Linked DNA regions of Homo sapiens: region 1 is linked to region 2. The links are contacts of gene promoters, found by promoter capture Hi-C in blood cells and fetal thymus (Javierre and others, 2016). All regions are on one chromosome and are shown on one strand. Each heading gives the region's core, a stretch centred on a gene start or on the middle of the fragment in contact. The rest is flanking DNA. Distances are from core to core; before and after follow the strand shown. Region 1 overlaps TMTC3 (transmembrane O-mannosyltransferase targeting cadherins 3). Region 2 holds the start of CCER1 (coiled-coil glutamate rich protein 1).

Region 1 (4,981 bases), core at 61-2,560, 2.8 Mb before region 2:
TGAGGTGATCCGCCCACCTCAGCCTCCCAAAGTGCTGAGATTACAGGCATGAGCCACTGCACCCAGCCCAGTCTTGCTTTTAAGCTTTGTTTTGTGGGACCACAATAGCATTTAGGATAAGACTAATTTCACTTCACTACTGATGCAAGATCTTTTTGACTATTGGATGTGAACTGTAAATTACGAAGATTTCCACACTGTCTGCCGAGGAACTATTCCTGGCTCGGTATATTTGGGAATTTTTAGCTCTAATGCATTCAGGAGGTTTTTGCCTGATTGTATTAGTTTTCTGAAGGCTGCTGTAACAAATAACTACAAACTGAATAGCTTAAAATAACAGAAATTTGTTCCCTCACAGTTCAAGAGGCCAGAAATACCAAATCAGTATGTCAGCACAATTGGTTCCTTCTGGAGGCTCTAAGGAAGAATTTGTTCCATAACTGTCTGCTGGTTTCTGGTGGTTGCTAGCAGTCTTTGGCATTCCTTGGCTTGTAACTCCATCACTTCAATCTACTTTGTCTTCACATTGCCTTCTTTTCCAGTGTATCTCTTTCTTCTCTTTTTATGAGGACCCCAGTCGTTGGATTTAGGGCCCACCCTAACCCAGTGTGACCTCATCTTAACTAATATTGGCAGAAACTATTTTCAAATAACACCACATTCTGAAGTTAGGGTAGACATGAATTTTTTAGAAATATGATTCAACCCACTACACCGACCATGGGTATTTCCTCACATATATGTGCTGATTTGAACTCATCAAAATCAGGCCAGGTGTGGTGGCTCACGCCTGTAATCCCAGCACTTTGAGAGGCTGAGGTGATCACTTGAGGTCAGGAGTTTGAGACCAGCCTGGCCAACATGGGGAAACCTCATCTCTACTAAAAATAGAAAAATTAGCCAGCGTGGTGGTGCACGACTGATCCCACCTACTCGGGAGGCTGAGGCACAAGAATCGTTTGAACCTGGGAGGCAGAGGTTGCAGTGAGCCAAGACTGTGCCATGGCATTCCAGCCTGGGTGACAAAGCAAGACTTTGTCTCAAAAAAAAAAAAAAAAAAAAAAGAACTCATCAATATTGAAAACTGGAGAGAGACCCTCTACAGATGTCTCAGGTTCTCTTTCTCAGCAGCTTTCTTCTGTCTGGATTCTTCCTCACTAATTCTAGCCCCCGCACTCCTAGGGCTCCCAACTTCATACTCTCAATTCAGTATACCACTGGGCTCAGCCTGGGTTCCCTCTTGCTGTTTTACTGACTAAAAACTCTATCCAGGTACTAAACTCTTTCCAGAAAAAGCTCCCCTTATTTGTTTTTCTTCTCTCAGGTATTACAGTCCTTTTTCACCTTATGCTCAGTATGTTTAAAAAAAAATTATACCTCTTATACAGTTTTTTAGTTGTTTAAGGCTAGAAAGCAGAAGATATAGTGAATTTTAAGTCTGCATATCATATTTATCTACTTTAACATTTAGCCTTTTTTCATTTCACCTGACTTGGCTAAAATTTAAAATGAAATTTATACTATTTCCCTGTTCAATTTTAAGTTATTGCCATTACATGCAAGAACTTTTATTTTTAACAAAAGGCCAACATGTTATTCACATTATGTTACATGATCGTGCATTGCTGGCGCTGGGTAGAATAAATTTTATTCAGATAATTTTTAAACCCAAAACTGTGTGATATTTTCACATAACTATCCTCCCTAGCATTTTTTTTTCTTTAAAGAATAATTACTTGTTAATATCCTGGATTTTTATCTCTGAGTCTAGCCGTGCTAAAATGAACTTGTGCAGATATTACAGTATTGGAAATAGAGAAGATTGAATTGTTTATATAAGACTTCGGATTTCCTTCTTAGTTTCATTGGTTTTCTGTTATTCCTTTTAGAGAATTTGAATCAACTATTTTCTATTTCCCTATCTACAGTCTAAAAATATAGTTTATAGGTGTGAATTTATGTATGTGTTAGTAGGTATGAATATGGTGCTTATAGCATATAAATATTTTCCAAATAAAGCATTTCAACATTGTGTATATATGTTTGTGTATGTGTGTATAAATTCTATTACCCTCTGAAGTTGGATTTAATATAATTTGATTTATTTTGACATTAACTCTTTCTTTAAATCAGCTATCCTAAATAAACTGTAATTTTTAAAACTAAATTCCGAATAGTGAATTATAGGCAAAAAGATAACTTTTTATTCAGTTCTGCTGGTTATTTTGAGAATTCAAGTTCAGACTCAAGATTTATTATTTTATCTGAAAAATAATATGTAAGTTGTGAGATTCCGTATGAAAATTTTGAAATGATATTATTTGTTCAAATAGTATTTATTTTTATCAAATATTTGATATGTTTTCAGAAAATCAAGTCAAATAAGTGGCAGTAGTTGATTTTCCTTGGCTTACTCATCTTAAAATGAGAAAATGGGTCTTTTAAGTACTATATATTATAACCAATATAATTTAGAACACAGACTAAACTAATGAAATGTATATATGTTGTGGCCTGGGAAAAGATAAACTATGATATAAGCTTATATTAGTATTTACTAAGAGAGAAAGTAGAACACAAATTCTTACACAGGCCTACACAGTTACTACTTTGTACTAGAAATTTGGTTTTTAGCTTCCTAGGAGTCAAAGAAAAGAGGGAAGGAAGCTAGGTGATATGGTTTTCTCTCTCCATGACAGAAGAAAAATATACGAATTTTTTCCAGGAAGCATAATTTTTAATTAGCATTTAGCTCTAAAAGAAATGTCTCATGTAGGAAAGCATTGGTGAGTGTTTTCAAAAGTGATTCATACAACACATACAACCATAAATCTTATACAACTTTTTGTTACTACTTTTAATCAAAAGGTTTAATGGAACACTTTTGCAGTGTTGTAATATTATAGGATGCATGTCTGAATTATTCTAATAATAAACAGAAATGGATGACCTGCTTGCCTTTCAAACAGTCCTTCATAAATATCACTTCTCTGAAGTAGATGTTTCATAAAGTTTTGATAGTTTGAACTCTAGCAAGAGTCTGAGGTACACATAACATTTGTCTGTGTCTTCTGTTTAATAAGATGATATATAAAATGTTTATTGTTTAGTGTTTTACTTATGTAAATAATTCTGTACTTTAAAAGTTTTATTTGTAATCTTTTTTTTAATCCTTTATACAGGTTTGATAACCCAGCTGCTGTAAGCCCAACTCCTACAAGGCAACTAACTTTTAACTACCTCCTTCCTGTGAATGCTTGGTTGTTATTAAATCCTTCAGAGCTCTGCTGTGATTGGACCATGGGAACAATACCACTTATAGAGTCATTACTAGATATTCGAAATCTGGCCACATTTACTTTCTTTTGTTTTCTGGGGATGTTGGGAGTATTCAGTATCAGATACTCTGGTGATTCCTCCAAGACTGTTTTAATGGTAAGAAACTTTTCTTAACTTCCAAATGATGTTAACATTCAGTTGAATAAGTAAGAAACTACCTTTAATTCAGCAAAAGCATCTTTTTAGAAGCACTCCTTTCTTTGTTCAACGGCATCCCAATTTATAAACGTATTTGAGTTTATCCCAAAATTCTCAGTTAATTTGCAGGCATAATTTGACATATGTTCAGCACATAAAATATTTGTTACCTTTATCCAACTAGATTATACACTTTTTGAAGAAATTGATTATATTGTATATTATTTGTTTTCTTGGCACAGAGAAGAACATCATATAAGATATACAACTAGAAATATAGAGCTTTTCAGTTCTCATGAGCAAGGTGGTTTTTATTACTCCCTTAGATAGCTTTCACTATGTTCGGAGAACTCTGATTATTTGAACAGTTTTTTTTTTTTTTTTTTGGTGGTGGTTTTTCTGTACTGTTTTTCTTCTTATTTTCTTACCCTGTGTCACTTCATACTCATAAGAGTTATGTTTTCTCTCCCTTTTAATTATTGAAGACAGGCTGGGTGCGTTGGTTCTTGCCTGTAATCCCAGCACTTTGAGAGGCCAAGGCAGGTGGATCATTTGAGGCCAGGAGTTTGAGACCAGCCTGGTCAACCTGGTGAAACTCTCGTCTCTACTAAAAATACAAAAATTAGCTGGGTAGCTGGGTGTGGTAGTGGGTGCCTGTAATCCCAGCCACTCAGGAGGCGGAGGCACAAGAATCACTTGAACCAGGGAGGTGGAATTTGCAGTGAGCTGAGATTGCGCCACTGCACTCTAGTCTGGGCGACAGAGCAATACTCTTTCTCAAAAAAACAAAAATAAAAATAAAAGTTTATTGAAGACAATAGTACATTTTCTCAGGCATTTATTATATGTCAGAAAGTATGTTTAATGAATTGCAGATACATAATTTTTTGCTGTAGCTGCTAGATTGATTTATTCATTCAATAAAAACTTAGACTTTACCCTTTGTACAGTGCAGCATTTTAGGTGCTGAGGTTATGATAGTAAATACACAGTTCACGTTTCCAGAGAACTTACACAGTTCACGTTTCCAGAGAACTTACATTCTAGAGAAATTTGGATGTCTGAGATACAGAGTAGATTTAAAGATTGTGTTGTCTATTATCCTTGAACATGTTGAGTTTGCATTACTGTTGAAACATCCTGTTGGACATTTTGAACAGCACTTTATGTCTGGAGTTCATAGAAGATAGTTAAGTTACACATAGAAATCTTATCCATTAACATAGAGGTGGTAATTGAAACCAGGATGTAGATAAGGTGAAATGTAGATGAGGTTATAGAGCAGCCTTTCTCAACTGGGGTTTTGTCAATTCTGTCAAAGATGGTAGCTGTTAACATTCTAGATGCACAGAAGTTCACTCATACTCATAATGGAAGCCTTAGGGTATTTGGTCTTAATTCTCCCCAGAAAACAGTTGAGTGGGCTAAATACAGTGAAAAGAGAAGATACCTACTACTAGGTCTTGAGAAACTCCTATATTTAGATGTTGAAGAGAAGGATCCT
Region 2 (4,895 bases), core at 223-2,722:
GGACCTCCTCTTCCTCTTCCAGCTCCTCCTCTTCCAGCTCCTCCTCTCCCTCCTCCACATATTCAGCCTCTTCGACCTCTTCTTCCTCCTCATCTTCGACCTCTTCCTCCTCATCTTCGACCTCTTCTTCCTCCTCGCTCGCCTCCTTTGCATCACACACCTCCTGGTCATACTCCTCCTCATCATCATTTTTCTTCTCCTCCTCTTCTTCCACCAGCAGCGGGGCAAGAGACTGGTTTTCCTCTGGGTTGGGACTGAATGCTAGAGAGGGATTCTGCACAAAGCCATACAGAGTTTCCTGCAGTCCCCAGGTTTCCTTGCTGCCGCCAGGGGGCGCGTCGTTTCCGGAGGATCTGGCTGGGGAGGCCTCGCCGCTCACCGTGGCCTTCTGCGCCCGCAGCGCCTCCTGCTGACGCTCCACCTTCTCCTGCTGCCTCATGTCCTCGTAGATCTGGTTCATGATGAATTGGGTGGTGTTGGGCGGCGCTCGCATGCCAGGCTCTCTCCACTCATACAGCTTGACCGGCCGCGGCAGCGTGCTCACATCCGCTGGCGGGCTCCGCGGGTAGGAGTGGCGAGGGTGGTGGCGCAGGCCGCGGCCTCTGCGGCCCCAGCGCTTCTTCCTGCCTGGGGGCTTCACCCAGCCAGGGTTCCAGGACCCGCTCCAGCAGGAGCAGCAGCAAAAGCAGAGAGGGTGCAGGCCATACACCCGAAACACTTGCACCGGGCAGGGGAATTTCCAGAATCCTGGAGGGGGTGGGCGCCAGGGCCCTCCCCAGCACCCCCAGTTAGAGCACACGGGTGGTTGGAACCAAAAGCCCGGGCCGTGCTGTTGCTTCGGCTGCTTCCTTGGGGGCCCATACTCGGTCTTGGGGCTATATCGGTGCGGTCTATTGTACGCTGGAGCACCCGGGCGCCTTCGATGGCAGGACGACCAGGAGCTCAAGGAGGCCGAGTGTGCCCAGCCACAGCCACAGCCGCCGCCGCCACCGCCGCCCAGGTTCAGAGGGTCTTCCCTTGTGTCGAGGGTCTGAGTCATGGTTCAGGGAGCTCCGAGAGGTCCAGATGGTAGCGACCTGAAGCTGTCGTCAAGTTTTGCCAGGTAGGACGGTCAGAAGAGCCTCGTCTCGTCAACCTGTCTCTCCACGCAGCGCCACGTGTCTACCCCTGGGATCACGTTTTCCTCTCCAGGAGGCTGCTCTCTTCCTGGTTTGCACGCTCTTCGGTAGTAATCGCTTGTCCTTCGCACCTGGGTTGTCTCGCCCAGGTGTGCTGGGTGGGACTGGGGCTGGGTAAGGATGGTGGGGGAGGAAGGTGTTGGCAGGCGACACGCAGTGAGACCCACTCCCGGGTCCCCACCACACCCGGCTCTGCTGAGGCACGGGCTGGGGCCGGGGGAGGCAGGGGTTGCGCAGTTACCTGCTGCTCCCTCTCAACCCAGGTGCTTCACTGTCGCCGTCCTGGCAGGACTGTGGTGGCGAGGGCAGCGGCAGCCTTTAAATACTGGCTGTGGTCTCCCGCGTGCCCACTGCGTTCTTGGTCACCCAGGGCAACAGCCAATTGGGGTCGAAATCGTCCTCCCTGTGTGCAAGGCCGGGTTCTGTCCGGAACCAGGCTCCAGGTGAACATTCGCAGGGGGCTTGTGACGCAGCGTTTGGGGGAGGTGAAGAGGGGTCCAGGCTGGGTTTCTGCTGCTCAATTCAAGCAAGTCTGGAGGCAGTTTATCCGAAAGCTTTGTATCACCTTGAGGCGGGGGTTTAGAAGATGGGCCTTCATCTGAACCCGGTGGGGGCGGGAGAACTTGAGTTTTGAAAACCCCACATTCTACACCTTTGGAGGGCCTAAGGGATCATGGAAAATTACTGGAGAAAGGAAACTTTGCCCAACCTCTTACCTTCTGGCCGGTGCCAACTCTTCTTACTCCTGAGAATTGGGATTCATAATACATAAAACAAGACCACGAACATTTATTATTGCATGTGCTCACTGACAAATAATCCTGTCATCTACCCTGAGAGGTAGGCGTATCTTATCACCTGTCACAGATGAGGGAACTGAGAGCTTAATTTCCCCATGGTTGTGGGGCTAATAAATTTCCAGGCTACGATTTAAGCCTAAACCTGTTTGACCCAAAAGTTAGGTTCCTAATGACATTGCTATGTGTTCTACCAAACCCCCAGTAGGACCCTTGTGATAACTAAATGACATAACATTTGGGAAGGTACTTTGCTATTGGTAATATACCGTACATGTGTACCTCAATTAAACAAATATTATTATTACCATAATGAATACCACAGGTTTGTCCTTGGGAAGAGGAATATTCTGATTGTCTTTCCTTTTGTCCCTTCACTGACCATACAGCATATACACGGGAAGCCTTTAAAGCATTGTGGTTAAGCATATGGGTTTTAATTTAAATAAATGGGATTCAACTTCAACTCACCAATTATTAATCTCTGTAAGCCTCAGTTTCCTTACCCATACCATGATTATACTACCTTTTCCATACGGTTGTGTAAAGAATTAAATGCATATAACAGGTCCTCTAATATTAATGTTTTGCTCAATGTCATTTCCTTATAACGTTGCTGAGGCAAAACAACAACAATAACAAAACCACGTTTCATTATATGTCTTCTCATTTAAAAGTAGCAGTTTCCAAGAACCTATGATGCTAAGTGAGGACTTACTGTAATTCCTTCAAGTACTTAGTGCAGGTACCCTGTAAGTACTCAGTAACTGTTAACTATCATCCTTATTTGTAAATACTTCATGACTTCTAAAAGAGATGATATAGTATATGTAAAGGCACTTGTTCTTGATGCAAAAATAGGCATCCCCACCCTGGCTTGTGTCCTTTTCTTGTCCTTCTTTGTAAAACGTCAAGGAAAGTGCTACCATACTTGGTCCTAGAGAAAACCGTCTCAGTTTATATCCCTTTCTTACTTTTCTGTGCTGAGTGGAATTGCACAAAATGGAAAACTGCCTGCTGGGAACTTCAGTCTATATAAGGCTCCATTAAATGCCAGAAAAGCAAAATGTGTGAAAGCCCTGAAGCTGGCAAAGGTCATTTATGCATTCCTGGCTGAAAATTGAGAACATTATAGGGGGTCTTGGATCAGGACTCCAACATTTGCCCTGAGACCTGTAGAATCCACAGGCTTCATTTAATTTCATTTGCTCTGTGGTTTGCTGAGGACACCCCTGCTTGACTCAAAGTACAGAATGCTGACATGTTTAGCCTGCAGTATCCCTTTCTAGATATGGACTCACCTTTGGCAGTTATTCTGACCCTGCTCTGTGTACTCAAAATGGAATGGTGAGAGCCCAGTTTTATTTTTTTCTAAGGACGTGTGTTATGCAAAAATGGGTTTTAATTGAGAGCATTACAGATGGACCATGTTGCTGTGTTGAAATTCCAATCAGTTTCTTTTTGTTTTAAAAGAGATGGTTAACTCATTTTACAGGTAATTAAGGACATCATTTTTTGATCAGTTGATGTGACCTTTATACAGTTAATCTTGGCATTATATACTTTTTGCATGGTGAGAATATTTATTCTCCCTACTGAACAACATTGACACGTTATTGGCTTGCCCGAATTTTCTTAAGAGAAGCAGCAATTTATTATTTTGATTATGATTTTAATTTTACAGAGATTGGAATTATAATACAAGTTTTGAATGTACTGGTAAATCATCCAAGAAAATTTACCACTAAAGCATGTTAAACAAAAAGTCAGACATTTAATTAATTTTTAAAGACACTTTTATAGTTCTTTTTTTAGTGACAAATTATTGTATATATATATGGCACCATGTGATATTTCCATACATATATACTTTATGAAATGATCAAATTAGGCTAATTAGTATATTCAAGTATTTGTCGTTTAATTGTGGTGAGAATTTAAAATCCTCTCTTATAGCTATTTTGAAATACACAATACATTGGTGTTCATTGTAGTCACCTTGATGTGCATTAGAACACCAAAACTTACTCCTTCTCCCTACCTGTAACTTTGTACCTGTTGACCAATGTAAGGACACATTTTTAATTGACCCATATTCTTTCAATACCATGAAATGAAATATTCTGATTCAATATTGAAATATAACACATTCATCCTGTTGTTGAATATTGTATTAGCTTTCTGTTGCTGCATAACAAATGATCACAACCTTGGTTACTTAAAACAATATACATTTATTATCTCAAGGTTTTCAGGAATCAGGGGTCCAGGAATATCTTAGTGGGCCCTTTGTCCATGGGTGCAACAGGCTGTGATATGGTTTGGCTGTGTCCCTACCCAAATCTCATCTTGAATTGTAGCTCCCATAATTCCCACATGTTGTGGGAAGGAGCCAGTGGGAGATAATTGAATCATGGGGGTGGTTTCCCCATACTGTTCTCGTGGTAGTGAATAAGTCTCACGAGATCTGATGGTTTTCTAAGGGGAAACACCTTTCTCTTGCTTCACATTCTGTCTTGCCTGCCACCACGTAAGACGTGATTTTGCTCCTCCTTTACCTTCTGCCATGAGTGTGAGGCCTCCCCAGCCAAGTAGAACTGTGAGTCCATTAAACCTCTTTTTCTTTATAAATTGTGCCGTTTCGGGTATGTCTTCATTAGCAGCATGAGAACAGACTGCTACAGGCTGTAATTAAGATTTTGAATGGTTTGAGTTCTCACTGATGTGCTCAATTCAGAAAAATTCACTCCTAAGATCATTTATGGCATTGGCAGAATTTATTCCCCATGGCTGTAAGACTGATGGCCCTGCCTTTTAGCTCTCTGTTGGCTGGAGCCCAGCTTTAGGACTTGAGGCCACCCACTAGTCCTAGGGGCTAAGGGCGGTTCTTAGACACTGCCCAAAGCAAGAACTGTGGGCT

What was found. The method cuts DNA at HindIII sites, captures the fragments that hold promoters and counts their contacts. A CHiCAGO score of 5 or more calls a contact.
Region 1: a contact is called between a fragment that was not itself captured here and the fragment with the promoter of CCER1 in region 2, in 1 of 17 cell types (M2 macrophages). The highest score is 5.6, in M2 macrophages.

The regions. Positions count from the first base shown.
Region 1 is chr12:88,163,148-88,168,128 of GRCh38, forward strand. TMTC3 (transmembrane O-mannosyltransferase targeting cadherins 3) reads left to right here. Exons shown (of 14, transcript NM_181783.4): 7 at 3,183-3,435. Among named protein-coding and RNA genes, the nearest start is that of TMTC3, 23 kb to the left of the region's middle. The HindIII fragment of the contact is 2,457 bases long and covers 83-2,539 here.
Region 2 is chr12:90,953,704-90,958,598 of GRCh38, forward strand. It overlaps CCER1 (coiled-coil glutamate rich protein 1), which reads right to left and starts at 1,473. Exons shown (of 1, transcript NM_152638.4): 1 at 1-1,473. The coding sequence starts at 1,039. RefSeq lists an enhancer at 382-481. The HindIII fragment of the contact is 2,103 bases long and covers 1-1,730 here.